Linked DNA regions of Homo sapiens: regions 2 and 3 are each linked to region 1. The links are contacts of gene promoters, found by promoter capture Hi-C in human tissues and cell types (Jung and others, 2019). All regions are on one chromosome and are shown on one strand. Each heading gives the region's core, a stretch centred on a gene start or on the middle of the fragment in contact. The rest is flanking DNA. Distances are from core to core; before and after follow the strand shown.

Evidence for each region. The method cuts DNA at HindIII sites, captures the fragments that hold promoters and counts their contacts. A contact is called where the count stands out against the background at its distance.
Region 2: a contact is called between the fragment with the promoter of FOXRED2 here and the fragment with the promoter of TST in region 1, in 1 of the 25 tissues and cell types used here (dorsolateral prefrontal cortex).
Region 3: the fragment with the promoter of LGALS2 here is called in contact with the fragment with the promoter of TST in region 1 in 2 of the 25 tissues and cell types used here (lymphoblastoid cells and spleen).

What each region holds. Positions count from the first base shown.
Region 1 is chr22:37,017,839-37,021,547 of GRCh38, reverse strand. TST (thiosulfate sulfurtransferase) reads left to right here and starts at 2,101. Exons shown (of 3, transcript NM_003312.6): 1 at 2,101-2,148; 2 at 2,795-3,410. The coding sequence starts at 2,816. MPST (mercaptopyruvate sulfurtransferase) reads right to left here and starts at 1,806. Exons shown (of 3, transcript NM_021126.8): 1 at 1,676-1,806. The coding sequence starts at 1,711. RefSeq lists silencers at 1,490-1,809, 1,820-1,939, 1,970-2,359, 2,520-2,579 and enhancers at 2,053-2,554, 2,583-3,558. The HindIII fragment of the contact is 8,246 bases long and covers 1-3,709 here.
Region 2 is chr22:36,504,965-36,508,672 of GRCh38, reverse strand. FOXRED2 (FAD dependent oxidoreductase domain containing 2) reads left to right here and starts at 1,633. Exons shown (of 9, transcript NM_001102371.2): 1 at 1,633-1,664; 2 at 2,250-2,777. The coding sequence starts at 2,251. RefSeq lists a silencer at 1,387-1,886. The HindIII fragment of the contact is 18,149 bases long and covers 1-3,708 here.
Region 3 is chr22:37,578,149-37,581,794 of GRCh38, reverse strand. LGALS2 (galectin 2) reads left to right here and starts at 1,708. Exons shown (of 4, transcript NM_006498.3): 1 at 1,708-1,895. The coding sequence starts at 1,890. RefSeq lists a silencer at 1,322-1,381. The HindIII fragment of the contact is 22,309 bases long and covers 1-3,646 here.

The sequences.
Region 1 (3,709 bases), core at 852-3,351:
TGAGCCGAGATCGCGCCACTGCACTCCAGCCTGGGCAACAGAGTGAGACTCCATCTCAAAATAATAATAATAATAATAATATTGCATTATTTCTTCCATTACTCTCATTGGTGGCCCTGGAACTGCCAGCAGCAAATCTAAAATCTTAGAATTTCAGGGCTTGGTGGGACTTCAGAGATCTGAGGTCACCCTGCCCCAGTCTCCCTGCTTGATTGGCACTTCTCACAAAGGTCTGTGGGCCATAAAGGAGGGTGTGAAGGCAGGCTGTGGGTGTCAGGGAGGGGTAGAAACCAGGTGCCTGTGTGATTCAGAAGCCGGGATCACTGTAGGTGAGGGTGCCCTGGGAGTGGAGGACCCCAGGACGTAACCGCCCCAGGCTCATGTCAGAAGGATACACAGCTGCACTGAAGCAAGCGTGAGCCGCAGGCTGGATCCAGGGTACCCCTTGAGGAGCAGAGCTTGGGAGCTCCTCTTGGACCTCCCCAGCCTGGTCCCTCCTGCCCACCCCCTCCCCCAACCACCAGACACTAGGCTTTGAGGATTGCTGTGAGCATTTTAGAACAAAACCTTTTTTTAAAAAGAGGGATGAGGCCAGGGATGGTGGCTCATGCCTGTAATCTCAGCACTTTGGGAGGCTGAGATGGGCAGATCACTTGAGCCCAGGAGTTCAAGACCAGCCTGGACAACATGGTGAAACCCCATCTCTACCAAAAATTTAAAAATTAGCCGGGAATGGTGGCACATGCCTGTGGTCCCACCTACTTGGGAGGCTAAGGTGGGAGGATCGCTTGAGCCTGGGAGGCGGAGGTTGCAGTGAGCTGAGATGGCGCCACTGCACTCCAGTCTGGGCCACAGAACCACAGCCTGTCTCAAAAAACAAAACAAAACAAAAGGTCAGGGTTGGGAAACAGGGAAAGCTTCCAGGCTGGCCTCTGCAAAAGCTAGGGAGGGGCAATGGTGTCCCCCAGTTTGCAAGAGCCCATGGCGAGCTTTTCAGGAATTTTGCCAACTGGTTGTTAAATACAGCTATTATTAAAAATTGAATTACATCAACTTATGATTAAACGGGCTAAGTTCAAAACAGGCAATTTTTTAAAAAGCATGAACCTTCAGGGAAGAGCCAGGTAAACAAAGGCAGCTGGTACCACGTGGGCTTCAGACCAGGGATCAGGCCCGGCCTCAACTCTGGGTGTGTCCTCCAGCAACTCGCTCTGCCGCTCTCTCCTGTCTTAGTAAGTTTCTGGCCTACTCCTCAGGGTTATTGTGGGAATTAAGTCACACCACGGGAGTACCCAGCAAAGTGCCACACCAAGCAGGGCTGGACAATGTTAGTTCCTTTCACTCACTAACAAGTTATTGGCTAGTGTCTCTTCCTGGGGCCTCTGGGTCAGCGGGGTCTCGTCTCCCTGTCCTCCTCTCTCTCCCCCGCCCTCTCTGGTGCCACCAGGTCACCCACTTCCACCCAAGGCTCCCCACCCGCCACTCGCCACGACCCCACCCGGCAGGCCGCCCCAAGCGGACAGTCACCCTTAGTGCCAACGTAGCGGCGCGCCTTCTCTCCTAGACTAAGCCCCCTCTTCCGCCCAGGTCCCGCGCGGGAGCCCCGCGCCGAGCACCCCCAAAGAGCCACTCCCTCCCCCTCCAGAAAGGCAAGCCGCCACGCCGCGGCAGTTACCCGGGTCTCGGACTCCCGGCTTCCTGGCTCCGCCATGGCCCCCGCGGCGCGGCGCCCCCTCCCCGCGCCCGCAGCTGTCCCCTCCTCCCGCCACCAACCTGCAGCGGACCAAAGGGAGGAGACTCCGGCACAGCCCACCGCCGCGGCCACTCGGAGCCGCTGCTGCCCGCGCCTTCCACTGGCCGGGCCGTGGGGGTACGCCCGCTCCGCCCAGCCCAGGCCCGCGCGGCCCCCGCGCCACCCGGCGTCCCCCTCAGACCCCCGCGGGTCCCGGAGGCCCCGCGCGCGAGGTTGGCAGGTGCCGGGCGCGAAGCGGCCGCGCGGGGGAGGCGCGGGATGGCGGCGGGCGGCGCAGGGTCCCCCTCTGGCGGTGGCGCGATGGTGCGCGCCGCCTGGGGAGCTGCGGCCGGGGGTTTGAACCGGCCAACTTCTCCAGCCGGCCGGGGCGAGCGCCAGCGCGGCGTCCGGGGCGAGTGAGTGCGGGGCGGGGGCAGCGGCCGGGCGCCTGGGCCGCCGGTCGGGCCACCTGCTGCCCGGGGAAGGATAGCGTTGCGAGAGTGGGACGGGGTGCCCCGGGAACCCCTGATCCACCTAGGGCAGAGGGCAGCGAGCTACGGGCCGGACTCGGGCACTCTGGAGGCGGGCGAGCTCGGGCTGCCTGGGGAGGCCGCAGGCGATGGCGTGTGCGCGGCTCGCGGAGCTTCCTAGCCGTGCGCCCACCCCCTCTGCCTTGGAAGGAAAGGGGATTCTAAGCCCAAGATGCCATCGCCCCCCATCCCGGGCATGCTTTCATTGCTCTTTCCTGGCGGGATCGAGTACTGTAACTTCTAGGAGCCAGATCCCCGCCCCAGGAAGCGCCCCTACTTGGAGTCCTCGGAAACTCTTGCCCCACCCGCTTCTGCGCTGGGCCCCCGGGCCGGCTGGGAGGGGCGGGGCCGGCTTTCCAGAGGGAATCTGCAAACTTATCCCGCTGCACGCCCCAGCCTCGCTGGCTTGCTGTAAACAAGGAACCCGGGGGAGTGCGGAGGGAGAAAGAGCTTCTCCCAGGCCTCACCCTACTGCACACACCGACTTCCTTCCTCACGCCTGTCTCTCTTTCCTGGTTCCCACCCGTGCCAGGTGACACGCAGAGCTGAAGCCATGGTTCATCAGGTGCTCTACCGGGCGCTGGTCTCCACCAAGTGGCTGGCGGAGTCCATCAGGACTGGCAAGCTGGGGCCCGGCCTGCGGGTGCTGGACGCGTCCTGGTACTCACCAGGCACCCGAGAGGCCCGCAAGGAGTACCTCGAGCGCCACGTACCCGGCGCCTCTTTCTTTGACATAGAAGAGTGCCGGGACACGGCGTCGCCCTACGAGATGATGCTGCCCAGCGAGGCTGGCTTCGCCGAGTATGTGGGCCGCCTGGGCATCAGCAACCACACGCACGTGGTGGTGTATGATGGTGAACACCTGGGCAGCTTCTATGCTCCCCGGGTCTGGTGGATGTTCCGTGTGTTTGGCCACCGCACCGTATCAGTGCTCAATGGTGGCTTCCGGAACTGGCTGAAGGAGGGCCACCCGGTGACATCCGAGCCCTCACGCCCAGAACCGGCCGTCTTCAAAGCCACACTGGACCGCTCCCTGCTCAAGACCTACGAGCAGGTGCTGGAGAACCTTGAATCTAAGAGGTTCCAGCTGGTGGATTCAAGGTCTCAAGGGCGGTTCCTGGGCACCGAGCCGGAGCCGGATGCAGTAGGTAGGTGTCCCAGTGCTGGGTGGTCCCTGGGGAGTATTGCCCCATGGAAGGATAGGGAGTAAGGATGACTGGGACCCTCTCCAGGGTCCGTCCCATGCCTTCAATCCTCCCATGTAGGCCTCAGTCTTTCCATCGATAAAACCAGAAAGTGGAGACAAACCTAAAGGCTTTTTCAGCTTGGATGCACAAGGACCCAAGAATGTGTCCTCATAGCCATGTGCTAAGAAGCCACCTAGCATCTGTGTGAGCAGAAGTCACTGGTGACATGTCCACCACCTCCACTCCCAGGCACCAGCTGC
Region 2 (3,708 bases), core at 384-2,883, 510 kb after region 1:
ATCCCCAAATTGCATGACTATCAAAACATCTCATATGCCCCATAAATATATACACATATGCCCCCAAAAATTTTTTTGAAAAATTGGCCAGGGGCCATGGCACACACTTGTAATCCCTAGCACTTTGGGAGGCTGAAGCAGGATCGCTTGAGCCTGGAAGGTCAGGGCTGCAGTGAGCCATGATTGTGTCACTGCACTCCAGCCTGGGTGACAGTGAGACTCTGTCTCAAAAAGAAGAAATAAGACATCCCTACTTTATTTTTGGCAAAGTATTCTGCCTGACCTCTCTGGTTGCAATGCTTATTCAACAAATGCTTAAACTTCCGTATGTCAGATACTGGACAATTTCTGCTCTGAGGGAGCTTTTCTCTGATGTTGACACAGACTGAAGAAAGTAAATGACATTCGGCCAGGCGCGGTGGCTCACGCCTGTAATCCCAGCACTTTGGGAGGCCGAGGCGGGCGGATCACGAGGTCAGGAGATCGAGACCATCCTGGCTAACACAGTGAAACCCTGTCTCTACTAAAAATACAAAAAATTAGCCGGGTGTGGTGGCGGGCACCTGTAGTCCCAGCTACTAGGGAGGCTGGGGCAGAAAAATGGCGTGAACCTGGGAGGTGGAGCTTGCAGTGAGCCGAGATCACGCCACTGCACTCCAGCCTGGGCGACAGAGTGAGACTCCATCTCAAAAAAAAAAAAAAAAGAAAAAGTAAATGACATTCTTTGGTAGGTACTTGTAGGCCTGAGAGGTCAGGAAAATTTTTCTAAGGAGTCCCCAGCTACGATTTTTAATTCAAAGAATCTCCAGCCATGCAAATCTGCAGGCTCGCAGTTCTTTCCACCTGCCCTTCCCCCAAGAACACTCAGCCCCATTTCACTGGACTTTGAAGGTTCCTACACTGACTTCGTATTTCTCCCCATGTAAATCTCATGCAGGGGCCACTTGCCACCCCTGGGAAGCCAACCTTCATCATCCAGTTCACGTTATCTTCCTCCTGCCATTTATCTTGCCTCCACTGAGTTTTAATTCCAGGCTCCACTTCCTGTGATTGTAAACATATCCCTTCATCCCTATGTCTCCATTTGACCAGTCAGCTACCAAATGTCGGAAACAATGCCTTGCCCACCTCTCCTATTTGGTGGAAGATTAGGACAGTCGTGTATGTTACTTGGTAAGCAGTACACTGAGTCACTGTAGCAAACGCTTGTTAATTGGCTTATCGGTCCTGGCTCCACCACGCTGGTTTCCAGTCCCACAAAACTGGGTAGGCCAACTAGTTTTAGCGTTTGGCTACATTCATGGAATATGAGAGCTAGGATTAGCTCCAAAAATCACGTGCTCCCCTCCCTCCGTGTAGAGAGGCACCTTTTAAAACGAAGGACCCAGTTCCCCATCCCGGATCTCCAGACCTTCCACCCTCGCGGGTGCGCGCTAGCCCCAGGCCCCTCTACCAGCCCCCGGAGCAGCGAACGCAGCACGCGCGCGCCTCTCCCGCGCTGGGCCGGAGCAGGCAGCCTGCCAGCTGGTCCCGGCGTGCCGCGCGCCGCGCACGTGACCCCGCCCCCTGCCATTGGTCCGGGCGCGAGGGGCGGAGCCGCCGCGGAGCAAGCGAGCCAAGCGCGGCCTCATTAGACCACGGGTTGCAGCCGGAGCGGCTGGGAGGTTCGCGCGTTTCTCAGGGTTCGGTCGGAGGCGGGGAGGCCGGAGCTGCGGGCGTAGGGACCTGGCGGCTCCTGAAGCGCACGCGGGCGGGCGGCAGGTGTGCGCGGCATCCCTGTCACGTGGCCGAAGAGCCTGGGGCGCGCGGACCCTGGCAGGGGGCGGGGCGCACGCAGGCCACACCCACTTCAGGCTCCCACCCGGTCGCTGGAGAGGGGCCAAGGCCTCTGGAAGGTCCAACCTGGAGGGTGGTTCAAAGGGGTGTTGGGCACCCTCAAATTAGGGGAAAATTGGGGAGTACGCTCTCCTTCCCCAGGGTGGAGGTTACTACAATCATAAGCGGGGAGCCGGTGCCCCTGAGGAAGGAGACCCTGAGGGAGATAAGATGGAGGGGCTCGGGATTCCGGGGAGCCCCAAGTCCCAGCTTGAAACGGTGGAGTCCGGGCAAATGAGCTCTGAGGACGGCTTCTGGGCCTGGCCGTGACCCAGATTGCAGTGAGAGTTCCCGCAGGCCCCGCCTCTTTCTGGGCCTCGTGTCTCCCAGCCGCCGGGCCGGGTGCGAGGCCTTACCCCTCTGATCTGCTGCAGGATGGGCCTCTCCGCTGCGGCCCCGTTGTGGGGTCCCCCGGGGCTGCTCCTGGCCATCGCCCTGCACCCAGCGCTGTCGGTGCCCCCGCGCCGGGACTACTGCGTGCTGGGCGCTGGGCCCGCGGGCCTGCAGATGGCCTACTTCCTGCAGCGCGCTGGACGCGACTACGCAGTGTTCGAGCGGGCCCCGCGGCCCGGCAGCTTCTTCACACGCTACCCGCGGCACCGCAAGCTCATCAGCATCAACAAGCGGTACACGGGCAAGGCTAACGCCGAGTTCAACCTCCGCCACGACTGGAACTCTCTGCTCAGCCACGACCCCCGGCTGCTCTTCAGACACTACTCGCGTGCCTACTTCCCCGACGCCCGCGACATGGTGCGCTACCTGGGTGACTTCGCGGACACGCTGGGGCTCCGTGTCCAGTACAACACCACCATCGCCCACGTCACTCTGGACAAGGACCGACAGGCCTGGAATGGCCACTACTTCATCCTAACTGACCAGAAGGGCCAGGTGCATCAGTGCAGGTAAGGCCGGTGCCAGAGCTCACCTGCGGAAGCTGGGACCTTCCCCACACGAACCACACACCTTGATTGGCCAGTAGGTATGGGAGGAATGGACGAAAAAGGGTATTTCGCTTTTTTTTTTTTTTAAGACGGAGTCTCACTCTGTCGCCCAGGCTGGAGTGCAATGGCACGAGGTCAGCTCACTGCAACCTCCGCCTCTCTAGTTCAAGCGATTCTCCTGCCTCAGCCTCCCCAGTAGCTGGGATTACAGGCAAGCACCACCACACCCGGCTAATTTTTTTATATTTTTGGTGGAGATGAGATTTCACGACGTTGGCCAGGCTGGTCTCGAACTCCTGACCTCAGGAGATCCACCCACCTCAGCCTCCCCAAATGCTGGGATTACAGGTATGAGCCACCGCACCCGGCCTTCAATTCTATTTTTGAAACCACTCTGTGATCAAAGCATTCTTCTGCAAGCCGGCAGGATCCAAGTCCCCAGCTGCCCTCCCCTGGATGGCGATCCTCACCAATGGAAGGAGCAGGACTTTGGAATCAAGCCTATCTGTGTTTAGACTCTGGCTCTGCTGCTTTTAGGAGCTCTCAAGCCATGGGCCTGCAGGGCCTGTGCCTCCTCACCTGTAAAGCAGGCCACATACCACCTCCAGGTTGCTTGGAGGAGTCAGAAAGATGGTGCACAGATACACTTAGTACAGGGCCTGGTACAGAATTACTGCTCAGTGGATAGATGTATCTGTCAGAGGACTCAGAAAGGGGAAAGTAGAATGTCAGGTTTCATTTCATCACCAGCAGTCATACCTGGTCTGACTGCTATGTGCAAAGTTAGGTGAATTCTCCATTTCTCATACTGTCATCTTCTCCTCTCTCACAGGGCAAATTTAACCCCCAGTACAGTGCTAGGGAAAATACTGTGAGCTCAGGGAGAGGCAAG
Region 3 (3,646 bases), core at 459-2,958, 560 kb before region 1:
GGTGAAAGGAGGAAGTCACTCCTCACTCCGGGCTGGCAGGGGACTGAAGGTGGTGTCCTATGTGGGCACTGGGCAGTGAGCCACCTGCAGACTCCTGGCACCGAGGGCCCTCGGCAAGGCCAGTTCCCCACATCCTGCCCGGAGTGGCCACCGCCAACTCTGATGGAAAACGCTCTGGCTCGCCAAATCCTGAGCTCTAGAAAAGTTCTCCTTCTGGGAATCTGCCCTACATAAGTTGTCACGATGCAGCCAAAGTTTATGTCCAAATAGATTTAATGCAGCAGTATTTTTAATAGCAAAAATGTAGAATTAATGTGAGTGTTCAGCAGAAGGAAATTGGTTAAATAAATTCAGTCGTTGAAAGGTAGACTATTTCGCAGGCATTAAAGTATGGTTCTGAAATATAGATTTGTGGTCTTTAATGTTTCCCAAATGAAGAGAGATAAACAATTGCACAGACAGAGGGGTGTCTATAATGTAAATCTGTGGAGAACCGCCTGGAAGGAAATGTGCCAACAGCGTAAGCCAGTTCCCTCGTGGCGGTGGCATTATGAGTGATTATTTTTCTTTTTATTTAATATCTCTAATTGTCTATAGTAAGCATGCCAGTTACATAAGTAACAGAAGTCAAGAGCAAAGCATTTTCATCCTCCATGTCCCCCACTCAGCCCTCCCACTCCTTCTGCACTTTTATTTATTTTTTATTTTTTTATTTGAGACGGAGCCTCACTCTGTCGCCCAGGCTGGAGTGTAGTGGCGCGATCTTAGCTCCCTGTAACCTCCACCTCCCGGGTTCAAGCGATTCTCCTGCCTCAGCCTCTTGAGCAGCTGTGACTACAGGTGCGACCACGCCCAGCTAATTTTTGTATTTTTAGTAGAGATGGGGTTTCACCATGTTGGCCGGGCTGGTCACAAACTCCTGACTTCAGGTGATCCGCCTGCCTTGGCCTCCCAAAGTGCTGGGATTACAGGCTTAAGCAACCGCGCCCAGCTCTCCTCTGCTTTTGACCATTTGTTGTAAATAGTTTGAAATCTTTTCTTTGAATCCGTGTATTGGTTTTGAAACCTACATGTCCGATCAGATAAATAATATGGGGAGGGAAGAAGAAAACATAATGCTCTCTGACAATGAATCATAACATCATAGAAAATTAGAACCTTAGGCCAGGCGCAATGGCTCACGCCTGTAATCCCAGCACTTTGGGAGGCCAAGGTGGGCAGATCACGAGGTCAGGAGATCGAGACCATCCTGGCTAATACGGTGAAACCTCGTCTCTACTAAAAATACCAAAAAATTAGCCGGGCATGGTGGCGGGTGCCTGTAGTTCCAGCTACTCGGGAGGCTGAGGCAGCAGAATGGTGTGAACCCAGGAGATTGCATTGAGCGGAGATCGTTGCCACTGCACTCCAGCCTGGGTGACAGAGTGAGACTCTGTCTCAAAAAAAAAAAAAAAAGAAAATTAGAAACCTAGACTTTTTTTTTTTTTTGCAAAGCAAATCTCTCTTTTTACAGGCAAGGAAGCTGGGCTAAGTGAGGGAGGCTGGGAGAGCTGTCAAGCGGCTGCATTGCGGTTTGTGTGGGGGCAGAGCTGGGGCTGCTTCCCCTCTCGGGCTCTGGGAGCGCTGAGGAGGGGGAGGCTGGGCTGGAGGGAGGCCAGGAGGATGCTCCGGGCTGGGTGGGGTGGAGCTGGCTGAGGAGTCTTCTGCCTGTTTGTGCTGGGTACTGGGAGATGCAGGCGGGGAGACACAAGGTAGAAGGGGCAAAGTCCTCACCTAGGACCTTGAGGGAGTTAATGTGTAATATTCTAGGATATAAGCTTGACCACGAGTTGAGACCCTGAGCACAGGCCTCCAGGAGCCGCTGGGAGCTGCCGCCAGGAGCTGTCACCATGACGGTGAGGACACTAGCCCCCTGCTGCCTGCCCCACTCTGTTCATCTTTGTCTTTGCCTGGGTGGGGGCTTTTAGGGAAAACCATTGCTGTCCCTCTCTGGGCCTCAGTTTCCCCATCTGTGCAGCAAAGAAGTTGGACAGAGGTCTTTTTTTAAAAAACAGCATCTTGGGCCAGGCGTGGTGGCTCCTGCTTGTAATCCCAGCACTTTGGGAGGCCGAGGCTGGTGGATCATCTGAGGTTGGGAGTTTGAGACCAGCCTGACCAACATGGAGAAACCCCGTCTCTACTAAAAAAATACAAAATTGGCTAGGCCTGGTGGCACATGCCTGTAATCCCAGCTAATGGGGAGGCTGAGGCAGGAGAATCACTTGGACCTGGGAGGCAGAGGTTATGGTGAGCCGAGATTGTGCCATTGCACTCCAGCCTGGGCAACAAGAGTGAGACTCCATCTCAAAACAACAACAACAATACAGCATCTTGCTCTGTCACCAGGTGGAGTGCAGTGGTGGCAATCATAACTCACTACGGACTTGACCTCCTTGGCTTAAATGATCCTCCCACCTCAGCCTCTTGAGTAGCTGGGACCCCAGGCACTCACTACCACACTGGCTAATTTTGTTTGTTTCTTTTCTTTCTCTTTTTTTTTTTTTTTTTGAGATGGAGTCTCGCTCTGTTGCCCAGGCTGGAGTGCAGTGGCCCGATCTCAGCTCACTGCAACCTCTGCTGCCTGGGTTCAAGCAATTCTCTGGTCTCAGCCTCCCAAGTAGCTGGGATTACAGGTATGTGTCACCACACCTGGCTAATTTTTTTTTTTTTGTTGAGATGGAGTTTCTGTTGCCCAGGCTGGAGTGCAATGGCACGATCTCGGCTCACCACAACTTCCACCTCCCAGGTTCAAGCGATTCTCCTGCCTCAGCCTCCTGAGTAGCAGGGATTACAGGCATGGGCCACCACACCCGATTAATTTTGTATTTTTAGTAGAGATGGGGTTTCTCCATGTTGGTCAGGCTGGTCTTGAACTCCTGATCTCAGGTGATCCACCTGCCTTGGCCTCCCAAAGTGCTGGGATTACAGGTGTGAGCCACTGCTCCTGGCCTAATTTTTGTATTTTTAAAGTAGAGACAGGGTTTCACCATGTTGGTCAGGCTGATCTCGAACTCCTGACCTCAGGTGATCCGCCCACCTTGGCCTCCCAAAGTGCTGGGATTACAGGTGTGAGCCACCCCACCCAGCTTATTTCTTATTTTTCGTAGAGATGAGGTCTCACTATGTTGCTCAGGCTGATATCAAACTCCTGGGTTCAAGGGATCCTCCTGCCTTGGCCTCTCGAAGTGCTGAGATTACAGGTGTGAGCCACTGTGCCTGGCCTCCATTGATCTTTATAGAGATAAAAAAAAATCTCAGCTTGGGCAATATAGTGAGACCTTTTCTGCTACAGGTGCATGCCACTACGCTTTGCCTTAAAAAATTAGTGGGGGTAGCGGCACACTCCTCAGCCTTGGGAGGCTGAGGATCACTTGAGCCCAGGAGGTCGAGGCTACAGTGAGCCGTAATTGCACTACTGTACTCCAGCCTGGGCAACAGAGTGAGACCTTGTCTCATATACCCACACACAAAACCCAAGTCTTGGAGAGCAAATTGCCCAAGGCCACAAGCTGCAAATCACAAGGGGTTGAGTGGATTCCCACTGAGGTCTCTGATTCGTTGATTCTACACCAGACTCTGCCACAGCTTTACTGTGTGGCCTTGGCCA